2 separate regions of the Homo sapiens genome follow, and region 2 is linked to region 1. The links are contacts of gene promoters, found by promoter capture Hi-C in human tissues and cell types (Jung and others, 2019). All regions are on one chromosome and are shown on one strand. Each heading gives the region's core, a stretch centred on a gene start or on the middle of the fragment in contact. The rest is flanking DNA. Distances are from core to core; before and after follow the strand shown. Region 1 holds the start of GTSF1 (gametocyte specific factor 1). Region 2 overlaps HOXC8 (homeobox C8).

Region 1 (6,890 bases), core at 2,912-5,411:
TTACCCCATAGAGCCCCTCTTCTTTTTTTTTTTTTTTTTTTTTTGACACGGAGTCTTGCTCTGTCACCCAGGCTGGAGTGCAGCTCTGCCTCCCGGGTTCAAGCGATTCTCCTGTTTCAGCCTCCTGAGAAGCTGGGACTACAGACAGACACCGCCATACCCGGCTAATTTTTTTTTCTTTTTTTTGTATTTTTAGTAGAGATGGGGTTTCACTATGTTGACCAGACTGGTCTCAAACTCCCGACCTCAGGTGATCTGCCCATCTCGGCCTCCTAAAGTGCTAGGATTACAGGCGTGAGCCACCACGCCCAGCCGAACCCTCATTTTGAAAGAATTTGCAACTGAATTTATTGAATAATTTTTCCATTTTTAATTATACACCCAACTGCCAAACAGAAATCATAATTAGATGAGAGAAAAATTAATAATTAGATGAGAGAACCAGGACTTGATTAATAAAACCTAAGCCAGAAACAAAAAAATATATTTTGGTCTTTTGACGGGCAAAAGTTTTAAGTTTTATTAGGGTTGTCTGAAAACAGAAAGTTTCTAAAGAACCTCAAGGACTACTGGAATGCCTTCAATCCTAAAATCTGAGAAAACTATCTTCCTAACAAAGGGTTTTTTCCAATAACTAAGAGAATAGATCTATTTATTCATTAGTTCAGATATTTTATTTTTACTATTATTAATTCTTTCGTTTTAAATTTTTCTTCTTTGAGACAGTCTTACTCTGTCGCCCAGTCTGGAGTACAATGAACTGCAAACTCAGCTCACTGCAGTCTTGACCTCCTGGGCTCAAGGAATCCTCCCACCTCAGCTTCCCGAGTAGCTGTGACTACAGGCACCCACCATCAGGCCTAGCTAATTTTTGTATTTAGAGAAACAGAGTCTCATCATCTTGCCAAGGCTGGTCTCAAACTACTGAGCTCAATCAATCCACCCGCCTCAGCCTCCCAAAGTGCTGAGATTACAGGCATGTGCCACCGCACCCAGCCAACTATTATTAATTCTAAGAATATAATCTATAGGAGGCTGGGGGTGGTGGCTCACACCTGTAATCTCAGCAACTCTGGAGGCTGAGGTGGGAGAATCACTTGAGGCCAGCAGTTCGATACCAGCCTGGACAATATAGCGAGATCCCCACCCCCAATCTCTACAAAAAATGTATACACACACACACACACACACACACACACACACACACACACACACACAACATTTAGAGGTAAATGCTAGTATATACACAGATAGAACCAGCACGGATCAGATTCAGTTTAGGGTATTAATTCCCAATAGCTCCTAGAATGACCCTTGTATAAAATGCCTTGTCTCATTTTTTTTTTCCTTTTCAAATATGATCAACCTGGCTGGAAAACCAGTCTAAAAGAAAGCTAAGCAGGGACCTCAGACAAAGCAGAAAATTTATAGTTAGAAAGGAATGAACAAAATACTTAAGAATAGAAAGAACAGATGTGTGGTGCATTTTTATTTCAAAATCACCATTGAAAAACAGGTTTGATTTTTGCTTGTTTGAAAGTTGGTTGGCTTATTCACAGGTGCTAAATGAAACAGCATTATCAGTTGAGGATCCTGTCATTCTGACAAGGCATTACTACTGAATGCAGTGAAGCCTGACTTTGGATTCTGGTTTGGTACCCATTCCCCTATCCTCCCAAGCCCTTAGCTCTTTCTTCCTCAGAAATTTCAATCTGCAGGTATCTGAATAAAATGTATTTATGGGTCACAGTAGCACTGTCAACAATTTCACCAGATTACTGCAATGTAAAGCCTGAAAAAATATTTCATTTCAAATCACACTGGCCCCAACAATCTGCATTAATGATACTGTGATAAAATCAGAGGTTTAGGATTTCATGAAAATTGTTTTAAAATATTTCCTAACAATCTAAAACTGATTTGCCAAAACAACTTTTTCCAAAATGATTAGTGCTAAGCTTGCAATGAAGCTTTCCTTCTTAGCAATTATCTTTCGCAAACCACTTTAACAGTTTGCTCCTCCTTCAAATGAATCATCCAGGCCATGGGTGAAAGAATGGCTTTTTTGATTTCAAAACAATGCCTAGGTCAGTTGTTCTCAGCCCTGGCTACACATTAAATTCATCTGGGTAGATTTTTAAAAATAACTATGCCTGGCTCTTTCACATTAATTGGTGTGGGATGGGAAGTTGGCATGGTATGTCTTAAAAGCTCCCCTGATGATTCTAAGGTGTAGACAAGATTAAGAACCACTAGCCTACAATGGCTTGAGCCTGGCTTCCATCAACACTTGGTTCTTTTTAGTGTCTTAATCTGAACTGATGGCTGTGGAGCAAACTCTCTTCTAGTAGGAAAAAAAGGTCGGGGGGAGGGGGTGCGGAGGGAGTAACAACAATAAACGCTCACAAATTAATCATGTAAAACGAAAACATCCCTTGCCCGGCGCAGTGGATCACACCTGTAATCTCAGCACTTTGGGAGGCCGAGGCAGGCAGATCACCTGAGGTCAGGAGTTTGAGACCAGCCTGGCCAACATGGTGAAACCCCCGTCTCTACTTAAAAAAAAAAAAAAAAAAGCTGGGTGTGGTAGTGCCTGCCTGTAGTTCCAGCTTCTCAGGAGGCTGAGGCAGGAGAATCACTTGAACCCAGGAGGCGGAGGTTGCAGTGAGCCGAGATCATGCCACTGCTCTCCTGCATGGGCGACAGAGCGAGACTCCATCTCAAAAAAAAAAAAGAAGAAAAAGAAAATGCCCCACTGATCCTTTTTACTAAAGCTACATTCAGTTTTTGTCAGGGTAGTCCTCTCAAGTCCTATTTGGGCTCTACACCACTGAAATGCTGTAGAAATCCCAATATTTCACTGCCCAGACTAATCACCCAGACTGCCTCCTACATCTTGAACAGCACAGAATGTTTTGTCATATCTTTTACTTCTTGGTTTTGAAAAATATTACCACCAGATCTACTTGTAGTGTCAACACCTTCCTTTTTTTGTCTAACCTTCAAAGGCTACAAGTCCCTTTTCTCTATAATGCCTTCCCAGGTCATTTCAGGCCCCATTAATTTTTTTCCTTACAGGAATTTACAGTCTCTACCACTTTTTTTGGCATTTTTTGTACTGCTATTAAACCTTTCATCCACTTTGGGAGTCGTTTTTCTAAGCACTCTGGGGACAAGAACTGCAGCTTACACTTTTTTTCCCCAGAACAAAGCCTCACACTACGTTTGGTTTTCCCTTAACAAGTTGTAACCTTCCGGCCTTCTTGTCCTCTCCAACTCTTCATTGAGCTCTCTCCCCAACTCTAAAACTCGCTTTCATCAGGCAGCAACAACCATCATCCTACCAAGCATTCTCAGATAGTTAGTGCCTTTTGAATTTTGGGATTTTACAACACATTCTAAACAAGAACAGCCAGACACAAAATTCCTGTCCTTGGTGATTGTTTTGTGGCTGCACTGCGTATCTCCTTTATAATTCCTCTTCTCTTCCCTCAAAATCTAAATTACCTTTCTATCTAGACAACTTCCACAAACAAGGCTTCTTTCTAGGCAGCTCCCCACCTCTAACCAGTTCCATCAGTCCCATTCCCTCAGGCGCCATTTTTTTTTTTTTTTTTTTTTTTTTCCTGAGACGGAGTCTCACTCTGCCGCCCAGGCTGGAGTGCAGTGGTGCAATCTCGGCTCACTGCAGCCTCCGCCTCCCGGGTTCAAGCAATTCTCCTGCCTCAGCCTCCCAAGTAGCTGGGATTACAGGCGCCCGCCACCACACCCAGCTAATTTTTGTATTTTTAGTAGAGACGAGGTTTCACCATGTTGGCCAGGCTGGTCTTGAACTCCTGAGGTAATCGCAGGTGCCCATTTCTAAGTGCTCATCTGCCTTTTCTAAGATGGCCGCCACAAAACCCAGGGAAAGAAATGCGAGTTCTACCCTCTCAAGGCCACTGTTGTTCTGGGGGCCAGGGGAGGATGGCCCCAAAGATGGGGTGCCCAAGGAGGAGATCCTCGTGGGAAAGGGTCATCAGGGAGCTGACCCTAGGGGCTCACAGGTGAACTCCACAGCTGATCCACCCTGCCCCACACTCAGCCAGAACCGAGACTCCCAGTCACAGGAAGTGCCGGCCCCTCGCCCCACCTCCCAACGTTAGGCGCCGGAAGTGGCCGTTGCTGGGGCTTGCGTGGGAGGAAGGTGACTGTGAGGAAGGTGTGTGTCCACCGAGGTAAGGAAAGGCACCCCGGGGCGCCTCTAAGCAATTCCTATTTTGCGTACCGGGATACCTTCACCTTCTAATATCCTCATTTCGCTTTTCTGCTGGTAGCCTTCAGCCTTGTGGGCTCTCAATGCAGCTATTTTGGCTACCAACCTGTTTCGCTGCATTGCCCACTCGAGGGCCTCCTTGGCGCCTTTTCTATGTTTTTTTTAAGTTAACCACCTCCCCCACTTTCTCTTATTTAGTCTCATTGATTAAGTCTACTGTGATTTTGTTGTTGTTGTTGTTGTTTAAAGGAAGAAAAATGATTCTTTTACTAAGGCCGGAATTCTGTTAAGCGTTTAACCAGTAGCCGCCGACTACATCCATACCCTAAACTTGATTGCTTCCGGCGTAGCTTGTCTATTTCACCGTGATCTAGTAGTAGGGAAAAGGTAAAGAATCCCGTTAACAGTTTGATGCGGAAGATACTTAAAACAGACACGGCTAAGTGATGGTACTGTGAATTCCAGTGCCCCTAGTGTACTGTAATTCGTCCTTTTGTCCGGGAAGAATAGGTTGGCTTCCTACAAGCTGCTGAATCTGGTGCTCATCACTTAAAATCAAGAAACATACTTGGTTCTTCCTTCCAAAACTCTTATTTTTAATGAAAAAGTATGAAGTAACTATGTATAAGTGAAATATATACAAAAAGACGGTGGGGATTTCTTGATCCAAACATAAATATGAAAAATATTTTTAAGACAAATTCACTAATGATTGTCATTAACAAATGGGCTCAGTAGCAAAAAAACTAGAGTTCTAGCTGATCACTTGTATTTCCTATCATAGGTTCTAACGCTGCTTATGTCACAGAATGGGGGGAGGGGTGGTGAGGAGTGTAGAATTGTGTGAGGGGCCAAAGGAGAGCATGCTCTAGAGACAGACAATTTTCAGAAGTTTCGTATGGGGATGGTTTTATATAAATTCAGGTTTTTCCCACAATAATAAATGTATTTAGTCTCAGTGCTCAATAGAAGAGATTTCTAATAGAAAAGGATTCAAACTGTGAAACCATTTCTCTTTTAATGTTTCACATTCCTGTTACAGATTTGTTCTCTTGTGACTCTGTTATCCATAATATGGACAGTTCTTGAGTCCTAACATTGAGAGGTTTTCCCTTAGTGCATAGAGGGAATGAGTATTAATTGGAGAAGCTTAAAGTATTGCCACTTTAGCACTGAAGATTGGGATGAGAGGAGGTGAAACCTCACTAGAAAAAGGGACAATGTTAGTGTGGCCCTTCCTGATCATGTTTAAGAAAAGTCATGAAAATGGTGAACTAGTGTTTCCAAGCATATTGGAAGGGTTGAGTGTATACTGTCTGTCAAAGACTTCCAGCATTTCCAGGTCCTAGAGAGGAACAAGACTGGTAACCTGCCTATCTGTATTTTTAAGAACCCAGGAGGAAAGCTTTATAATAGAACATTATTTCTGTGTTTATGTATAAGGGGTTTTTTGTTTTTTTAAAGACAGGATCTCACTCCATTGTCCAGGCCAAGTGCAATGGCACGAACCTCATAGCTCCTGGACTTAAGTGATCTGCCTGCCTTTGCCTCCTGAGTAGCTGGGACTACAGGCATGAGCCCCCATGCCTGGCTAAGTTTGTTTTTTTGTTTGTTTGTTTGTTTGTTTTTGGGGGGGGGTTGTTTTGTTTTTTGTAGAGACGTAGTCTTGCTTTGTTGCCAGGCTAGTCTCAAACTCCTGGCTTCAAGTGATCCTCCTGCCTCAGCCTCCCAGAGTGCTAGGATTACAGGTGTGAGCGACCACGCCCAGCCCTCATGCATAAGTTTAAATGACAGTATTCTTGTGGTCTTGACTTGCCCCCTCTAATGTTAAATATTATATGGATATTTATATTATAATCACTATTATATTAATAGTGTCAAACCCTAATAGATGCTAAACAGTGACAGGCACTTAAGTAATAGCACTTAAGGTAGACATCTTATCACCCAAATACAGCTTAAATTTGAACTATAGGAGTCATATTTGGTTTTTCTTAACTATTTGGTAGGCCCTAGAATTTATTCCAAGAATGTGAATTAGGCCATGATGTTAAAATGATTCCAAGAAGAATGCTTTAAAGAGAAGAAAATATTGGGGGGAGTGGGGAGAGTAAAGGTTTCTTATATTGAACTTGGGTAGTTTCAAATCCAGAAGTGACTCCACTTCTTAGGGTTACCTTTTGGTACATTTTATTTCTGATTTCCTGAATCACACTTTTGTTTTTTCCAGCACTTGGATTCAGCTTCTTCATTTCCAACATGGAAGAAACTTACAGTATGTACTCCTTGTTGCTTTTAGAAAATAAGTTAAATCATTTACGTATAGTTTTATATCTGACAAGACTTTTAGTGTGCTGGGAAGAAGTCGGACTTCTCAACTGCTAAGGAGGAAAAGTCTTTATGGTATTGCCCAAATTTGAAATAAGATACTTGAAAATTAAGAAAAGAGGTATGAGAAGTCATAAAGCTTTGAAAAGGCCACAGTTAGGACACCTTTGTTAAACTATTAAATGAGGCAGGACTTCACCTTCTTGTATGTATGACACGGGGATAGTAACTTCTACTTTCTATTTTGAGGAGTAATATATAATAATGTTGATGTACATTAGTTTTTAGGATAAGAAATCTGGGAAGG
Region 2 (6,890 bases), core at 2,681-5,180, 460 kb after region 1:
ACTTTTATTACTCAGCTGTAAATTTTCTGCAAACAACCGGGAATGCGATGCATTTGTGTAGCGTGTGCAAATGGGCGCCGCGGTCGCCATGTTTACCCAATTCTCTCATAGAGGGAGCATCCCCGGACCCCCACCCCACCCCTACCCCCACCCACCGCCCACTCCCCACGGGCCAGGCTGCTGCAGGCGAGCGCAGAAAGAGCTGAGGGCGGACGCCCAGGCGAAAGAAAGCTTCAAGCACTGAGGGTCGGTTGCCTCTCCTGGCTTGCCGAGTTTTAAATATTGTCCTTAATAAATGGGGGCATTAAGGTTGGATCAGGCGGAATTCAAAGCTTTGCAAAGATTTGTGGCCTTGAGGCAGTGATGGCTGGTGAATTGCAGGGATTGAAAGGGTGCCTCCCTACCCCTACCTTTTTTTTTTTTTTTTTTTTTTAGTAAGAGAACAACATCCCCTCTATGCCGTACCCCTGAAAGCTCCTACTCCACCCTAGACAGGAACAGTAGTGGAAGACCACTGGCAGCCACCCAACCAAACCTGACCTGGAGTGGTCTGAAGAACCTAGGGGACTAGACCTACCCTGGGCAATCCTGCAGTGCAGCAGGAGAGGTGAGAATTGGGGTCAACTTCTAGGACCCTCAAAACGACCCACATCCCCGGGGTCCCTTTCTTAGAGAGAATGACATTTTCCCCCAAGACCATCCCTAGTTTCCCTTCCCAGTTCAAATGGTGGCTTATTTGAAATCTTTTTACAATTAAAAATAAAATTAAAGCCCAAGATCTTGGTCTCTACTTCCTTTTTGCGGGGAGGGGTGCAAGGCAGTAAGCCTTTTGGATCGTGTCAGATTGCCCATACCCACCTGCCTTTCTCAGAAAAATTTCCTGATTCAATGTCTGGGCAGCTGGGATGTACTACCGAGGCCTGAAAAAATAACCTTTTACTGCCCTGAATTCCACCTTCTGTGCTAAAATTTCGAGCAGCCTGTTTTTCCAGACCCCTAATTTTGAAGGTGAGTCCAGAATAAATTCCCCCATAGAGACTATTTGCCGGGGGAGGGGTTGCAGGCAGGTCACTCTCCCCACGGGCTCGAGATTTGAAGGCCGGCATCTCTCCACTTGGTCCCGCATCAAGCTGGCATGGGAATCTCAATGGTTGGGTGCCTCAACCCTGACCAAGAGGGGATACCTCATGCCTTCCCCAGACTTCCTCCATAGTAAGAAAAGCAGTTCCCTAGGCCGGATGCAGGGACCTCGTTTCTTTTCACAAACCCACCCATAAATTTTATAACAGGTAGTTAAAAATTACGACAAGGAAGCGCTGGCCCAGCTTTTCACAATGGGCAGCGGGGAGAATGGGACGGCGCTGCGGGCAGCTCACCGGAAATTTTACTTCTAGACTGTGGCACAACCTGTCCTGAATTCTCCCTAATTGGGCGGGGTAACTTTCCCAGCCAGCAGGCAGTCATTAGGGCATCTTATCTGGGGAAGATAAGACTGGGGAGACCAAACCACTCGCCTATCCAAGGGTCCCTCAAGGAGCCCTTCAGGACGCTCACTACCTCTCTCACCCACCCCCAGATCTCTTGCAGGTCCGCACCTTCCTTGGCTGATGCAATGAGGGAGTGGGGAGGAAAAAAAATTTAATCCAGAGAAACGAATTTGCCCCCCAACTTAATAGCTGCATTATTCCAGCTCTACGGTTGAGATTAGAATAATAAATTCAAGGAGCAATGAGCGAGATGCTTCAACTCAGCATTTTGAAAGATACTATTTTTCACAAATCACAAATGGCTTTCGGAAGCCACTTTGATTGGCTAATAAAAAAGTAAAGAATGGGAGAGAAAGTCCTATCTGCAGCAGCCGAATGGTCCCCATTCCGGTAATGGGACGGCGGGAGCATTTGGGAGGACGCGATTCTAAAGAGAGCGCATCCCGCTCACAATTACGTTCCCCCATAAAACGGGTTTTTACCTCCATTTCTTTCCAAACGAGAAAACAGAGGCGGTGGGCAGGAGGGGTGGGGGAGCGGGTACTGCATGAGGGGGTGGCTGGGGCTCCCTCGGCTTAGCCCTCTCCATGCCTGGCATCTCGAGTAAAGCCGGGCGCCAGACGCACCCCGCCCTCCGACGCGCCGGGCTTGGGGCCACGGACATTGCTGAACAGGACAAGGGATAAATGGCACATTTGGTGTGGGGAAAAGGCGGCGAGGCCCTTCGGAGCCATTTAATGCTGGGTTCATTCCGCTAGGCTACTGGGCCAGATATTTTTATTAATAGCAATCATAATTCCACGTTTAAAAACGAAACGGGACCTCAGCCATCCCTCGGAGTATGGAGGACACGCCTGTGGGAAGGCCTGAGGTCTGAGCGAAATGGCCTCTTTTCTGGCTTCCCTGGTGGGTAGCCGGTGTCTCCCACTGAGAACAGGTTACCTGGCTGGTGCCGCTGCTCACAGCAGGGACCCCAGGTTAGAGAAGATTTCCCGGAGCTCCTGCTCAAAGCTGCCCCAGCTGCCTGCAGCCTGTGCTTCCAATTCACAGCCTTTCTCGGACTGCAGGAGTCCCCCTGTGAAGGAAGCCCGACTCAATTCTCTACTCAGGCCCGATTTTCAGGCCCGGTTTGCGTGGGGACCAGTGACTGGGACCTGGGTGAAATTCCACAAAACAAGAGTTGGCCTGGGCCTAGGTCTGGGAAAATCATTGACCAGGAGCTAGACAGATGAGGGGTGGGGAGGACAGAGAGAGAGAGAGAGAGAGAGAGAGAGAGAGAGAGAGAGAGAGAGAGAGAAAGAAGAGAAGAGAAGAGAAGAGAAGAGAAGAGAAGAGAAGAGAAGAGAAGAGAAGAGAAAAAGAAAGAAAGAAAATCTGGCCTCAAAAATATTTCAGCCTTCGGGGGTCTGGTTTTTAAGACCAGAAGATCCCTCCCCTCCCTTTTCCCCTCTCCTGACTGAGTCAGAAGACTTGTATCTCTGGAATTTGGGATTATTTGACCAGAATCTTATTGGCATAAACAGAATTTTTAAGTCCAGGACTCTCCAGAGAGAAGTGAGAGACCCTTCTACCCCCTGGGTCCCTGAGCCTTCAATTCTTCATTTTGGGGAATGAAGATACCAATAAAGACGCCCTCTTACCCCGCTGTGACTGGGGTGGCAGGATGTCCACTCAGCAGGCCCATCCTCCAGGCCAATGGCCCACACTATGGGGGCTGGGTAAGCTGACCAATTGCCAAGGTGAAGTGGGGAGTGGACTTTAAACCGTCTGAACAGAAGTTGGAGTGGATGCAAGCGGGCTGAATGACAGTGATGACAATCTTCCTGTGCAGAGGATTGAATGTGAATTTCAGGATGTGGGCTCAGGCTGGTTGCCTACGAGCTCACTTACTTTCCCCTTCCTTTCTCCTCTCCTTCAGGCTTAAGCTTCCTCACCCTCCATTCTTAGCATCCCCCATCTTCAGGCAAGCCCTGCAGACAGGCCAGCCAGTTGCCCTGAGCCTCACACATCCCCACCCGGTTCATTATTCTAGTGCTGGGTGCTGGGTGCTAAGGTCTGGCCACAAGGGGCATGCGGAGATCAGAAGGAATCCCACTATCTCATCCTCAGCCCCAGACCCTGGAAGAAAAAGTCATAGTTGCATAGGGCAGATTCTTTGTCTGGGCCCAGCCCAAGGCTGAGGAGGAGGAGGGTGGATGAGTGAGGAAATCTTTCTTCCCATTGGGATCCTGGCGTCTGGAAACCCACTTTGTTTGGAGCCAAGATTCCCCCAAGGGCATACCTATAGACTCCTTACTCTCTCAACCAATGGACTGCTCCTTTTCTTCCTCCTCTCAACCCCTCACCCCTTTCACCTGCCCTCCCAGGCCAGCATGCTTTCTCAATTCCCAGGCTTCTCTCCACGTGAGTTTCTGAACCCCAAAGCCAGAGCAGTGAAGCAGACCTTTTCCAGAGAGTTGGACAGGGGGATAAGGAGAGAGAAGGTAGAGAATAGGGAAGAGCTGTGGAGAAAAAGCAAGTCATTCCAGCTTCTATTATTTTTCTTCTTCTTTTTATTATTATGACTCACGTATACAATACAAAGTACTTGGACCAGGAACAGGGCTGTCGGGACACAAAATCTACATTCATAGCTGGACATAAAGACAAATGACAAAAAATTATTATTATAGATATATTTTTAACATTTTTTTCTTTCGAGCACATTGCATAAACAGAGAATTCAAGACAGAGTTAACTATACATTCAGTGCAATTTAGTTCTACTCTACTGGGGTTAGAAGCACAATAAAAGCGCACAGGACCGGCGGGCTAGGCAGTCTCAGTTGTTGGGTTTTCTTAGTGAAATAAGCAGCAACAAACGACAACAAAACCGCATTACAAATACTCTCAAAGCAGGATTTCTTTCTATAGGTAGTGATAAAATACGCTGGAGGTTTCTTTCTTTCTTTTTTTTTTTTTTGATTTTTATTTTTTTCTCTTTTTTTCTCCTATAGCAGGATTTTAAAATTTTTCTCTTTTTCTTTTTCAAGATTATTGCAGGTTCCCTTTAGGTAGTATGTTAAAGATTTATTATTATTATTTTCGTGATTATGGTGATTTCTGAGCACTAACACTAATGCAGCTCAGAGGAAGGCGGGCCCAACAGAATAGAAATCAAACAGCGAAGGAGAGGAAGGCATGGGCCCGAGTGACCATGGGATGGTTAGGTAGGATTTTAGAGGCGACTGCAGGCTCCTATCTACCCTTCTGGAAATGGGGGGAGGGGAAAGACCCACATCTCCTTCAGGTTTCCATCAGGTTCCTAGAGAAAGTCAAGGGGGTTTTTCTAAGCAGGGAGCCCTGGGGAGGGGGAGGGGGAGGGGGAGGGGATATTCCTTGCTTTTTTCCTTATTTCTTTACATTTGTCTTCCTTTCCTTTCTTCATTTTTTTCTGTCCTTTCCTTTTTAGAAAAAGTACATCTAGTACACTAGCCTTAGCATAAAAACAAAACCACAAGTCCTTTTCTGCATTTCGAGGGGGCTCCCCTCTAAAATAAATACCAGAGAAGCAGGGAGGTGGGAGTGTGGTGAGAGACAGACCGAGGAGCACGGAGGCCAGGTCTCAGACCTTAAAATCCAGGAAGGACTCAGAAGGGTGGGGGCAGGGACAAGTGTGTGTGGGGCAAGGAGTGAGACAGAGAGTCCGAACTTTTCACTGTTTCTCCGTCTCCCCCCTCCAGCCCCCAAACAAATAAAGAGTGGGGGAAGTCCAAAGGTAATAAAACCAGAGCTGCAAGTATCTGACAGGTAGTTAGAGTTGTGAGTGTCATTCTATTCTCTATAAAAGCAAATGACAGTCGTAAACTTCTCAATTTATCTGCTACCATAAAACGAAACTTCAAGGGAGTTGCTAAGGGGGGGGGGGTCTTTCTTTTTTGCTTAGTCCTTGTTTTCTTCCTTTTCCTCCTCTTCTTTCTCCTCTTCCTCATTTCCTTCTTCCTCCACCTTCTCCTCATCTCGGGCTCCCGGCAGTTTATCCTTGTTGTTCTCCTTTTTCCACTTCATCCTTCGGTTCTGGAACCAGATCTTCACTTGTCTCTCGGTCAGTCCCAGGGCATGAGAGACTTCAATCCGACGTTTTCGTGTCAAATAAGGATTAAAGAGAAACTCCTTTTCTAGTTCCAAGGTCTGATACCGGCTGTAAGTTTGCCGTCCACTGCGCCTCCCCGGAGCTGGACAGAAGAAAACCCCAGTCTGGTTACGTTTGGATGGGGGCTTGGTTTTCCTTTGCCACTCTTCCTACTCTAAACTCCCCTCTCTGATCTCCTCAGTTCGCCTCCCCTCTATGGAAAAGGCTAGAGCAGAAGGCAGACAAGGGCAGAAAAGTTGGGGGATTGTTTTTGTTTGGCTTCACCTTGGGAGGTGGGGTGGGGGTGGGGGCTAGGGTCTGTTTGGAAACTGGGGCCTTTCAGGGGCTGGGGAGCCCTGTAGAATCCCCCCCACCAGGCCTGTAATCCTAGGAACTGGCCTTTGCAGCTTTGTTTACAAGTGCAGCAGGGCATTTAGTGAGCGAGGCTGGGGACAGACTGTTTCCAAAAGAAAGGAAAAAAAGCTGGGGGTAAAGAAGAGGGGCTCTGCCCACTGCCCTCTCCTTGTCTCTCTCTGCCTAATGCTTTTCCAATAAGAAAAATAATTGATCTGCTGGAATGTGTCACCGCTCCGCCTGATTGCTAACTGGAGACCAGCAAATAAATCATGGGCCATCCCCGCCGGAACTTGTCGCTTTATCGCTTCCCCCTGTACTTCGAAATTGGGCCATGAGGGGCCACCCTTGGAGGGGCTCATGACCTAAGCTACTCTGCAGGTCTCAGGGAGACCCCACAAGTCCTTGATTGGGGGGGCGGCTAGGGTCTTCTGGACCTCAGGAACCCCTAATCTCTATGGCCTCTCTCCTTTTGAGCACTCTTTTTTCCCCCTCCTCTCAGGCTCCCCCGTCTTCTCCCAACTGGGGGAAGTATAAAAAAGTTGGGGTAGTGGCCCTCAGGCTGGTTCTCTGAGAGGAGGTTATGGGTGCCCTAGAGAGCCAGAGAGCCTGTCCTTAGAGTCTCACCACACTCTGGCTAGGGCAGAGCAACAGGGGTCTGTCTCCCTTTGCCCCAAGACAGCCTGGCCAGTGTCCTGGACTCCAGGCTCCCTGCCTCTGGAGAAACTGGTTTGTTCCAAAGGCTGACAGTCTCAGGGTACTCAGGGTACCATTCCCAGCCACCTCCCCAACTTTGACTTTAGAGATGGGGAGTGGGAGAGTCAGAGAGAGACAGACAGACAGAGATGGAGAAAACGATTTTTAACCCTTTGCGGCCACACACCAGCTTTCTCTCACCTTCACCCCAATCCCCTAAATGTTCTAGGCACCCCCTCCCTG

Evidence for each region. Contacts are between HindIII fragments. The study calls those that stand out against the background at their distance.
Region 2: a fragment that was not itself captured here is called in contact with the fragment with the promoter of GTSF1 in region 1 in 1 of the 25 tissues and cell types used here (IMR-90 fibroblasts).

What each region holds. Positions count from the first base shown.
Region 1 is chr12:54,470,873-54,477,762 of GRCh38, reverse strand. GTSF1 (gametocyte specific factor 1) reads left to right here and starts at 4,161. Exons shown (of 9, transcript NM_144594.3): 1 at 4,161-4,217; 2 at 6,486-6,530. The coding sequence starts at 6,515. RefSeq lists enhancers at 3,833-3,892, 3,558-4,084. The HindIII fragment of the contact is 6,752 bases long and covers 1-6,191 here.
Region 2 is chr12:54,009,899-54,016,788 of GRCh38, reverse strand. It overlaps HOXC8 (homeobox C8), which reads right to left. Exons shown (of 2, transcript NM_022658.4): 2 at 4,020-5,700. The coding sequence ends at 5,408. LOC124902939 (a long non-coding RNA gene) reads left to right here. Exons shown (of 2, transcript XR_007063323.1): 2 at 436-776. Among named protein-coding and RNA genes, the nearest start is that of HOXC8, 4.4 kb to the right of the region's middle. The HindIII fragment of the contact is 4,116 bases long and covers 1,873-5,988 here.